2 separate regions of the Homo sapiens genome follow, and region 2 is linked to region 1. Evidence: promoter capture Hi-C in 16 types of primary human blood cells and fetal thymus (Javierre and others, 2016). All regions are on one chromosome and are shown on one strand. The core of a region is centred on a gene start or on the middle of the fragment in contact, and the rest is flanking DNA. Distances in the headings are between cores, read along the strand shown.

Region 1 (6,340 bases), core at 2,480-4,979:
AAGCTGGCAAGCAAGAAGGAGCCCGAAGTCATTCTCGCACTGCTAACCAGTGGCAGCCTTTGAAACAGAATGTGCAAGGGTGCTTCCTAGAGGAAGGAGGGTGTCAGCGTCAACAGCCCAACAGGGGAGAGAGAGACGGAAAGTGATGATGCAGTCAATATCTGAGTGAGCTGTCAATTCCCCACTTCAGACTGAAGGGAACTAGCACTTGCCAATTAAAATGTTGGTAGAAATGTAGAGATGACCTTTTTGTTTTTGTTTTTGTTTTGTTTTAAGATGGGGTCTTGCTGTCACTCAGGCTGGAGTGTAGTGCACAACCATAGCTCACTGCAGTCTCAAACTCCTGGGCTCCAGCAATCCTCCTGCCTCAGCCTCTTGAGTAGTTGGGACTACAGCCACGTGCCACTATGCCTGGCTAGTTTTTAAAAAAAACTTTTGTAGAGATGGGGTCTTGCTATGTTGACCAGGCTGGTTCCAAAATCCTGGCTTCAAGTGATCCTCTCACCTTGGCCTCTCAAGGTGTAAATGAACAAATCAGCAACTTTGACAGTGACCATGCACATAAAGCGATCACATTTTAAAGTTTCAACCTGGGGCTGGGTGCGGTGGCTCACGCCTCTAATCCCAGCAATTCGAAAGGTTGAGGCTGGCAGATCACTTGAGGTCAGGAGTTTGAAACCAGCCTGACCAAAATGGTGAAACCCCATCTCTACTAAAAACACACAAAAATTAGTTGGGCATAGTGGATCATGCCTGTAGTCCCAGCTACTCGGGAGGCTGAGGTAGGAGGATCATTTGAACCCAGGGCACAGAGGTTGCATGAGCCACAATTGTGCCACTGGGGGGTGACAGAGACAGGCTCTGTCTTAAAAAAAAAAAAAAAAAGAATAATGCACCAAGATGCAAGAAGTTCTTCAATTTATGTTAATCAAGGGGGAAAAATGCCAGTTTCATCATCCTGGTTCCTAAAGGCAGTATGTAAGAGTTTCAGGAGTTAGAAAACAAGTAATTAAAGGTAAAATGACTTCGCAGGAAAGGAAAACTAAGTTGATTTCCCTATTAAGTTCAAGAAGTAAAATAAAGTGCTAATTCTTTTAGTCATAGATGTACCCTAAAAGTAATGGGACAACTTTTAAAGAAATTATTTTTAGTAGATGCTAAAAAGTCATTTTATTCTTTTGAACTGAGTGCTTGACTTTAAAACATCTGGAAATTGTGCTCTGCTGTCATTTCATGGTCACGCTCAATGCTATAAAGATGAAGCTTCTCCATGGAGAGAATCGGGACTTGGAGGGAAAGATTTGCTGGTCTGGTGGTCTGGCCATGAAGTTAGATCTCAAGAGTATAAGAAATAAATTCAGGATTTATGCACACAATATTAACATGAAGTTTTCTTCATAGTTATTATATTTTTAAGGCCAGAGAAACAAGAATTATATGTTACATTTTATAGTTTATATATTTTAAATTATGTCTATGCATATTTACCTATTCTTTTGTATTTTAATGAATAATTATGTTTCCTTTTTCTGCTTCAAAACAGACATACAGTGGTTACATATGACTCATTCATCCTCACAACAGGCCTGTGAGACAGGGTTTATCATTTTATCCAGAAAATAAGGTACAGAGAGGTTAAATCTTGAGCTCAAGGTCAGGTCACATGGCAAGCAGGTGGGTCACCAGGACTCAAACCCTGTGAGTCTATTTCAAAATCAGGTCTCATAGCACTGCAGTACACTTGCAGATGGATATGTAACACGTTACTAAAATATACTCCAACTGGCATTTTATATGGGTAAATATCTTCAGCAAATAACTAGATAATGAAATATTTTTAAGTAGCAATCACAGATTATTAATAAATTGTGAAATAAACACTCATTAAAAAACAGGCCAGGAGTGGTGGCTCATGCCTGTAATCCCAGCACTTCGGGAGGCGAAGGCGGGAGGATCACTTGAGGTTAGGAGTTTGAGTCCAGCCTGGCCAACATGGTGAAACCCCATCTCTACTAAAAATACAAAAATTAGCCGGGTATGGTGGTGCATGCCTGTAATCTGAGCTTCTCAGGAGGCTGAGGCAGGAGAATCACTTGAGCCTGAGAGGCAGAGGTTGCAGTGAGCCTAGATTGCACCACTGCACTCCAGCCTGGATGGCAGAGCAAGATTCTGTCTATATATGTGTGTGTATATATATATATGTACACATATACATATATGTGTATGTTACATTTTATAGTTTATATATTTTAAATTATGTCTATGCATATTTACCTATTCTTTTGTATTTTAATGAAATATATATGTATATATGCACATATACGTGTATATATATACATATATGTATATATGTGTATATATACATATATGTATATATGTGTGTGTATATACATATATGTATGTGTGTGTGTGTGTGTGTATATATATATATATATATATATATATATAGCCCACGAATAGAACCAGACAATGCGCTTTTTACTTTTTAGAAGCCAAAGCATAAGATTTCTATGCCCAAAACGTGACCTGTCCCGTTCTGCTCTGCTGAATAAAAAGGGAAGAATATATTAGATATAACATAACAAAGCCTCTGTTCGATGATGCATGCAGTGGAATTTTAATGTTATACTTTTCCTACAAACATGCTTTTAATAAGGCAGTAAACTGTATTTAGCTAAAGATGAAAATAATTGATCCATTTTGAGCCATTAAGGTAGTTTATTTTTTTTACTTTACTTTCATCCTACTTTTCATTTTCATGGAAAGTACAGAGGTAATAGCAGATGAATTTCAATTAGTTTCAATTAGTGCCATAAATTGTTATAATGTATCGGGTTGCTGGGTTCTATCAGAAACCCCCCAGCAGAACACTCCAGGTTTTGTTTGCAGTTGAAAGCAGCATTTGAGCCTGTGATGTCAGCTCTTCTCCATGGCACTAGAGCAGTTCTAATAGTTTAGGGTAATTTACTTCTATAAATCCATCCAACTCTAGAGCCCGGAAAACCATGTCCTCTGGATGGACTAATTCCATCACAGAACCACTGTGTTCTCCTTTGGAAGCAGAAGATGTGAAATACAACAGTGACTGTGGGAAGGAGCTACTCTCTGGGGTGGTATCTGTGTGCGTCTGCAATGGGTAGAAGTTCAAAGGAGAGCCGACTTCCTCCTGGGAGTATCTCTTGTTCTTGATGCCCAATATCCACTGTTCTAGAACAATCCATCCACCATTCTCCCCTCACATCCCTGGGCTTCAGTAACATCAGCACTGGTGTTTGTTAGGATTCAGGGTGTGGTTCCCGGAGGGACATGTCACCCAACCACAGCCAGTGGGACACGATGAAACTATTTTTCACTGTCCTTGGCTCCCTTGCCCCAACTCACATGCTAAAGTATTTAAAAAAGGGGAAATTAGCACTGAGGGAGTAAAAATAAACTATGATGAAAACTGTCCACATTCCTCCTGGTGTTATTAGGGTGACATGAAGAAAAAGCAAGGACTGAAATGTCCAGGACGGTCACGGATGGCTCCATGCGACTTTTCAAACGTGCATAAGCACAGCCCTGCTCCTTGCTTTCCATCATGTGCCAGACTTCTAGCTTCTGGCTTCAAATGCCAATGAGACAGGCAGGTGGGAGGGAGTCCCTAGAAAAACTCCAACCAGCCTGCACATTGGGGTGGAGCCTCCGGAAATGCATGCCATCTGCAGTGGGGAGGAGCCTGGCCCCTCCTCTTCCTGTGTGGAACCTGGGAATCAAGTAGCCGGCTTGCCTTGCGGAGGATCCTGCTTCCCCCTCCTCCACCCCATTTTTTTCCTTTCACCCAGTAAAACCCTGTTTAACTCACCCTTCAAACCGTCTGCGAGGCTACGTTTTCGTGGCCACGGGACGGACAAGGACCCCATCTTTAGCTGAACTACGGAAAAGCCCTGCAACACCACCATCTCATCGCTGACTTGGAAATAAGCTAGCAGTGGCTGTGTCAGCAAGACCACCACATGCAGCAAGGGTGGCCACTTCCAGCTAGCTCCTGCATCCACAGCTGCCTCGCCCCTATTGGCTACTGCCATCCATGGTAAGCCATTCTCCCGTGGTCACCTTCTCTCTGCTGGCATGGGTACTACAGATGGAAAGGCCATTTTCCCAAAGTGCTATGTGTGTACAGCGGCACCCGCCTGGTCAGCTCCCATCCCTAAAAGGTAACCAGTTAAACTTGGACGTGGCTGGGTGCTTGCGGCCCGCCAGTGTCTGTCCCTGCCCATGCCTCTGGCTTCATCTCCTGCTGCTGCCCTTCACAGACTCTGCCCAGCCCACGTTGTTGGCCCAGTGTCTTTTGGACACAATCCAAACTCCCCCAGCCTCTCTCTCTTCTTATCCTGTCCCTCTTCAAGACTGAGCTCAAATCCTCCTTTCTCGGGGAGGCCTTCTCCAAACTTCACAGCCTCCAGGGCTCTCCTGAAGGCCACAGTGCCTCTATAGCTGACTGGCACCTGGTGTACACGGATCCCTGTCTTTAAATAGAGACTGATATCCTCAACTTCATCAGGGCCCTGGTGGCAAGGGCTGAGACTTCTACTCTAGGGTACCTTTAATTCCATCACACATAGAAGTAAGAGCAATGCTAATGGCAGCCTCTATGAAACTCTTTCTATGTATGAGAGACTGTCCTGAGTATGGCATGTAATCTCATTTATCTCTTTTCACCCTCTCAGCAACCCATGTGAGGTAGATATTATCTAGAATCTGAGACACAAAGCAGTTAAGTAACTTGCCCAGGGAAACGGCAGACCCAAGATTTGAACCCAAGTCACGTGACTCCAGAACCTGAGCTAGACTGACTTTATAAATGTCTGTTATTCGTGAGGAGGAGCTTAACTCATCCTGTGTAGCCAGCATGTTATTACTCTCATTACTAAGGATGAATTTTTAAAGAATAGCTTCAATTTCATTCAAGGGTTCTCTTGTCTTCATCTCAATTGACCATCTATTTCCAGGTAGGCCGAATGCAAAAAGTTTTGATAAAACTCACCATGTGGGAGGTAAGGAAAAGAGTTACATCCTGAACTGTCTTCACTTACATTCAGTAAAACATTTATTTTGCATTTACTATGTGCCAGGCACTATGCTGGATACAAGTGACACTGAGATAGAGTAGAGCTGAAATTATCAAAGAAATGGCTTGGAGCTTCAGCCAAGTATGGTACTGTAGATGTCTCAGAAGCAATGCTGCAACAGCTATATTCTTTTCAAAATGCAGTTCTGGAAAGATCACTAGGCTTTCTGCAGTATGAAAAGGGATTTGAAAGCCCAGCAATGAAACTCAAGTATCATATACCCAAAGTCTCAGTTAAGAAATAGAGGTCACAAGGTGACTGAAGTGATTTGGCATGAATTTGTATTTCTATATGGAATGCCCTCCCAGCTAAATGTATTTCAGCCTGCCAGAGAAGCCAATGGTTTATTTAGGAGGCTCTACCTCGAGGCCTCCTCTCACACTGGATCCTACTCTTTGCTGCATTTCCTGGGAGCCTCTGTGGGTATAATTCTGTCTGTGGTTGTTGGTTCTTGGCTCAGGTGGGGACGGGCTTTCTGTCCTAGGCCTCCTCTGCTCTGAGATTTGGACTGTGATCCAGTGATGCTGCAAGAATAATAATGGCAAGAATAAGGTCTGAATGGGACTAAAGTTATGTCTGAGTATGACCTGGATTACAGAAAAGATACAAAGAGGAGAAAGTTTTTTTAAGGCAAGATGTTAACATTTTTTCTTAACTTTTTTTACTTGAGAATTTACTTGAAAAGGGCCTCTACACAGAGTTAAATGAACTTGGCCAGGTCAGGTTTCCCTGAAGGCTCCCAGAGCTTGGTCCTAGCATTTCAGTGTTAAGAGCACCTACCTGAGAGGTGCCTGGGGGAGTCATTAAGCACCAGACCTGGAGAAAATCACCTACATGTAAGACAGGAAACTAATTTCCACATACTTCTTATCCTGGCTATTTGGTGGACAAAAGCAGGCACTCCAAATGGCTTTATGCACTGGCTGCTGGGAGTCAGTCTTAAATCTTGAAAAAACATTTCCCTTTAAGGGGGCACCACAGCATCACCATCCCTGACAACTGGGCAAGTCAGCAGAATAACACTGATGCTCTTCCTCCATCTGAGAACCAAGAGGACAATACAAAGGCACATGAAAGAGACTACAGCGCTTCTTGCTTTGGGGTTTCTAAATTCTCTGCTATCAATATTCCACCTTAAGACCTTGCAGTGCCACTTTCGAAGGCTCTTTTCTTGGTCAAATGCTCCCTAGCCCAAACAACCAAAACACACAAAGGTTCAAAGTTAAAGC
Region 2 (6,149 bases), core at 1,040-3,539, 180 kb after region 1:
ATTCTAGGCTTTCATCTAAATGCCATCATACAATACGTGGTCTTTATGACTGACTTCTTTTCTTTAGCATCATGTTTTCAAGGTTCATACACGCTGTAGCATGTATCAGTGCTTCGTTCTCTTTTATTTCCTGGTACTATTCCCTTGTGTGGATATACCACATCTTGTTTATCTATTCATCAGTAGATAGACATTTGGGCTGTCTCCACTTTTTGGCTATTATGAATAATGCTGCTATGAACATTTGCGTACACATCTCTGTGTGGACATGTGTTTTCAATTCTGTGTATGGAATTGCTGGGTCAAATGTTTAACTTTTGGAGAAAATACCAGACTTTTTCCAAAATGGCCACAGCATTTTATATTCCTACCAGCAATGGATGAGGCTTCCAATTTCTCCACATCCTTGCCAACATCTGCTATTGTCCTGCTTTTTTATTATAACCCTCCTAGCAGAGGTAAAGTGGTATCTTAGTGTGGTTTTGATTTGCCTTTCCTTAATGACTAATGATGTTGAATGTCTTTTCATGTGCTTATTGGCCAGTTGTATCTTTTATTTATTCATTTTTTTTAAAAGTGTCTATTCGAATCATTTGCCCACATTTTATGTGGATTATTTTTCTATTGTTGTGAGAGTTCTTTGTATATATTCTGGATCCAAGTCATTGGCATGGTATGGATAGTTAAAAGCCTCCCAGGTGATCTGCATATATGCCAAGTTTGAGAACCACTGATGTAGAACAAAGCCTCAAACTGCTCATGTCATCCAAGTAAGAGAACTTTTCATTCCAAGTTTCAAGAAAAGTAATATTCTTTAAACAGCTCTTACAGTTTTAACAAATAATGAGAAATGAGTAGATGAAGAATCATGAATTAGAGGGTGTGGGCTGCCTTTTGGGCCCAATAGGCTGGGCCTTCTGATTTGTTTAGAAAAGCTAGAAATTCCAATTTTTACATAGACTTTCATAATTTTTACAATAGCTGCTAATTCAAAAATATTTAATCATATATAACTTGAATCAAATCATGAGAAAACATTGTACAAATCCAAATGGAGACATTCTACAAAATAACTGACCTGTACTATTCAAAACTGTAATTGTCATGGAAGATAAAGACGGATCGGAGAATTGTTCCAGATTTAAAAAGGCTGAAGAAACAGAGCACCTGAATGCAATGAATGGCCTGGAATTACCTCTGCCATAAAGGACATTCCTGGGACTGTCAGAAAAATCTGAATGAAGTCTGTAGATTAGATAAAAGAATTGCAGGAACTAGCTGGGCACGGTGGCTCACGCCTGTAATCCCAGCACTTTGGGAGGCCAAGGCGGGCGGATCACCTGAGGTCAGGAGTTCACCTCAGGTCAGCCTGGCCAACATGGTGAAACCCCGTCTCTACTAAAAATACAAAAGTTAGCTGGGCGTGGTGGCGCACACCTGTAATCCCAGCTACTAGGGAGGCTGAGGCAGGAGAATTGCTTGAACCCGAGAGGCGGAGGTTGCAGTGAGCCGAGATCATGACAGTGCACTCCAGTCTGGGTGACAGAGCAAGGCTCCATCTCAAAAAATAATAATAATAATAATAATTACAGGAATCATAATTACTTGGCTTTGATCATTGTATTGCAGTTATCTAAGAGAGTGTCCTTGTTTTTAGGAAATATACATTGAAATACTTACAGGTAAAGGGGCATTATGTATGCAACTTACTCTCAAATGGTTCAGAATATACATGAGAGAGAGAGAGAGAGCCAGCAAGAGAGAAAAAGAGAGAGAGAGAGGGAATTAGAAAGGTTGAACAAGAGAATGATAAAACAAATGGGGTTGGATGTTAACATTTGGGGAATCTGGGTAGTTATAAACTTTCTTTAAGTGTGAAACTATGTCAAAACAAAAAGTTAAAAAAAATACCTTTCCAACTCAAACAAAATCCATCTGCCAGCAGAACGCTGGTTTGTGACTTCTGAAGTCTGAGATTTGGGGATCCTCAGAAATCCCCCTACGCACCCCTGGGGGGTCTTTTCCATTCCCTCTCACTCTAGGGACAAGGCAAGAATCTACAGCATCGTGGGCATCTGGAAGGACCTCGCAAAAGACAACCTAAAGCCAGTAACCCAGGGGAGGAAGCTGGCCTGGTGCACCACCTGGAAGGGCAGTGGGAGGGCCGGGGTGGCCAGGGAGACAATGGCAGCTCCAGGGGTGCCCAGCAACGCAAGAGCAACACCACTCACATCCCTCCTTCCTCTCACTAAGTGTGTTCCCACATGAATCAGTCACTGACCTCACACACAACAGCATGATTCTCTTCATCTTGGGCCTCTATTAGTTCGGCCAGGAAGTATTCACCGTAAGTTTCCTTCAGAATTGTGTCATAGCGCATAAATATTGGCATGAGATCGTCATGGTCTTCCACCCTGTTTAATAGAAAGGCTGAAGTTCAGTGTTCGTTCACTCATTTTTTTCCTTCAACAGGGCACCAACTGTGTGCCAGACCCTGTTCTAAGTGCCGGGGCTAGAGCAACACTCATGATATCAACTTTCCTTCTTTTTTTTTTTTTTTTTTTTTTTTGAGAGGGAGTCTCACTCTGTTGCCAGACTGGAATGCAGTGGCGTGATCTCGGCTCATTGCAACCTCTGCTTCCCGGGTTCAAGCGATTCTCCTGCCTCAGCCTCCCGAGTAGGTGGGACTATAGGCATGCACCACCACGCCCAGCTAATTTTTGTATTTTTAGTAGAGATAGGGTTTCACCATGTTGGCCAGGATGGTTTCTATCTCTTGACCTCATGATCTGCCTGCCTCGGCCTCCCAGAGTGCTGGGATTACAAATGTGAGCTGCCACGCCTGGCCTGAACTTTCCTTCTAATAGGAGAAACAGACAATAAAGATGTAACCAATTTAGACAATTCTAAACATTTCAAATAATGATACATGCTTTGGGATAGAGAGTGAGAGGGTCAAGTGGTCAGGGAGGACCTCTATGAGGAGGGTCATCTGAGCTGAGAGCTGAATGAACAGAAAGGGAAGAAGCTATGTTGAAACCTAGAAGTGGAACATTGCAGGCAGAGGGAACACAGTTGGCATGTGTGGGTGTGGGATGCAGGGAAGCACTTGTCATGGGCCAAAGGACAAGAGACTAGGGGCAGCACTTCCCAAGGATGTTCTAAGAAACACCACTATGATATTGTCCCGAGCATCCTCTCAGCCCAAAGAATTCCAATGCCTAAAAACAGTAACCACTATAAGTCCCTTCCTGTTTCATAGTTACATATTAAAGACTCTGAGAAGCACTACAGTAAAGAATATTTAACCTTGTTTATGCATTTTTCAAACACTGGCCCATGGCATCCTTTATTCCTGAGATGCCTCTGCACTTGCCATGGAGGGGAAGGCTGGTGAAGTGATGGAGCACTGCTCACCCTCCTGGGGACATCCACTCCGCTTCCATTCTCAGGACCCTCTACAGAGACCTTGACAACTAGTCTGGCACAGGGGGCGGTGGCAGGTGGGAACAAAAACCAGATTTATTGCAGCTTGGGGAGGCTAGCTCCTGTGTTCCATCTTGCTGCAGGATTTAACACTCCTTTCTTCTTTTTAGCACATTCTTGGGTAAGTTTAGTGCTCTTTTTTACCTGTGTGGGATGTTCTTATACTTTGCTTTTTTTTTTTTTTCTCTGATACTCTTTCTGTAAAAATGTTTCAGCATTGTGTTATTTTTTTCTAGTATATCTGCTTTGGCTACTAATGTCTATTTCCTCCCCCTAGCTTTACTATGCTACCATCTTCATCATCCCATTTTATCTTCTAGTATGTTCTCTTTGACGTTAATAGCAGCTCCATCTACTGAGTGATCAGTATATATATATATATATAAAGCTCAGGGCTTTATCCAGATGATTTCTGCTACTGTGTTTCTCACAGTGATCCCAGGAGGGTGGCACTGCCATTTTCACTTTGCAGAGGGAGGAGAGCAAGGCCCATGGGGATGAGGAAATGCTTTGCCTGAGATGACAGAAATAGTTGGCAGCAGAGCCGTGATATGAGCTCTGGTCTAGTGACTTAAGCCCTGCCTTCACACTCTGCTAAGCTGACAATGCACTTCAAAATCTTCCTTTATTTTGACTCTTCTTTTGAACATTTGTAGCTGGAAGCAAAAGAGTTGAGAGGGGAGTCCTTGGCTAGGGGCCAGAGGTTATCGTCCTGCCAGCCCTGCCACCATTCCTCCTGCGCCCTGCAGGAACGAATCCCCTGATCCTGCCACAGCTGCACTTCCTAAGTCTAAATGCTTTAAACTGAATGACCGCATGCACTCTGGATGAAAATCTTCACCCTGCTCCCAGGATGAAACCTTTGCCTCTGCTGACACAAGTGTAACGGTTGAAATGATGCTGGTTTTTCATTAAAAACAGTAAGTATCTTGATGGAAGAACTACACAGTTGAAAAGCCAGGTCTCTGGTCTATAAAACTTCAGAGGGAAGGAGGGAGCCAGCCAACAAGACCACGGTACAAGGAGGAAAAAACACACACAGAAGATGACAACTCGGGATGGGAGGGACCATCACCATGACTCCACAGGTTGAATCTTCTTGTTAACCTCTTGATATGGTTTGGCTGTGTCCCCACCCAAATCTCATCTTGAATTGTAGTTCCCATAATCCCCACATGTCATGGGAGGAAGCTGGTGGGAGGTAATTGAATCATGGGGGTGACTGCCCCCATGCTATTCTCATGATAGTGAGAAGGTTCTCAGGAGATATGATGGTTTTATAAGGGGCCTCCCCTTTCACTCGGCTCTCATTGTTCTTTCTTGCTGCCTTGTGAAGAAAGATGTGTTTGCTTCCCCTTCCACCATGATTGTAAGTTTCCTGATGCCTCCCCAGCGCTGCAGAACTGTGAGTCAATTAAACCTCTTTCCTTCATAAATAGTCTAGTCTCAGGTATGTCCTTATAGTAGTGTGAGAATGGACTAATACACCTCTTGTCAAAACTCTCTGGAAGGAGAGACAGCAAAGGGTCCTTAACCAGGCAACCAGATCCTTTGTTTTTTAAAACTGTCAACCTGGCCCTGATGTCATCACCACCAAACAGTCTTATTCCATGATGCAAGGGCATCAGCAGGAATTTCTAGTGATGAGGCTAAAACAGGAAGCCAGAAACAAATGTCAACCATTTTTTGAATGGGTATGACTGTACTACTGATGCTGCAGTCATTTTTCAAGCTATTTCAGCCCTGCAATAATTTACAAAAGGTAGGGCCTTGACCACTTGTCCATCTATTTCTGCATGTGATCACTGAGCATTATCGGTGGTCACCTGTGGCCCAGTGGACTGAGGCGCCACCATAAATGCATTAAGTCTTATGGTGCTCTTGAAGAGATTAGAAAAAAAAAAATGATACAGCATAGTGGTCACAGCCTGAGCGGGGGAGCCAGGCTGCCTGGGTCTGGATCCTGCTTCTGCCCAGCTGTGACCTTGGGTACTTTACCTCTCTATGTTACCGTGTGTGCATCTGTCACAAAAATAGCAAACGTTAAAAAAGGGTTATGTGCAATGTTATTGTTATTATCATTATTACTTAGGCAGGAGAAACCAAAAAGAACTGAAGAATTTCTACAGTCAGTGGGTGGAATAAGAGAGTTTCTTACTACAGAAGCTTGAATCACTGCACTCACTTCCCATTGACTACTGTAAGGAGAAACTCTGTCATTCCATCCACCATCACTAATCTTCTTAAAACCCTGCTTTCTTCATCTTACTTTAAAACTTTTACATGCAGCCATAAGAAATAATGAAATCATGTCCTTTGCAGCAACATGGTTGCAGCTGAAGGTCATTACCCTAAGTGAATTAATGCAGGAACAAAAAAACAAATACTGCATGTTTTCACTTATAAGTAGGAGCTAAACAATGGGCACTCAGGGACATAAAGATGGTAACGATAGACACTGGGGACTTCTAGGGAGGGGAGAGAAGGAGCAGGGTATGGGTTGAAAAACTGTTGAGTACTATGCTCAGTACCTGGGTGATGGGATCAATTGTACCCCAAATCTCAGCATCATGCAATATACCCGGGTAACAAACCTGCACATGTACCCCCTAAATCTAAAATAAAAATTGAAATTATTTTTTTAAAACTCCACTTTTGCAAGC

Evidence for each region. The method cuts DNA at HindIII sites, captures the fragments that hold promoters and counts their contacts. A CHiCAGO score of 5 or more calls a contact.
Region 2: a contact is called between a fragment that was not itself captured here and the fragment with the promoter of CFAP61-AS1 in region 1, in 1 of 17 cell types (M0 macrophages). The highest score is 6.2, in M0 macrophages.

The regions. Positions count from the first base shown.
Region 1 is chr20:20,265,226-20,271,565 of GRCh38, reverse strand. It overlaps CFAP61-AS1 (CFAP61 antisense RNA 1), which reads left to right and starts at 3,729. Exons shown (of 4, transcript NR_183979.1): 1 at 3,729-4,072. The region is part of intron 21 of CFAP61 (cilia and flagella associated protein 61); the gene reads right to left. RefSeq lists an enhancer at 4,000-4,500. The HindIII fragment of the contact is 5,830 bases long and covers 1,266-6,340 here.
Region 2 is chr20:20,087,109-20,093,257 of GRCh38, reverse strand. It overlaps CFAP61 (cilia and flagella associated protein 61), which reads right to left. Exons shown (of 27, transcript NM_015585.4): 7 at 2,282-2,414. Among named protein-coding and RNA genes, the nearest start is that of CFAP61, 38 kb to the right of the region's middle. The HindIII fragment of the contact is 6,730 bases long and covers 1-5,654 here.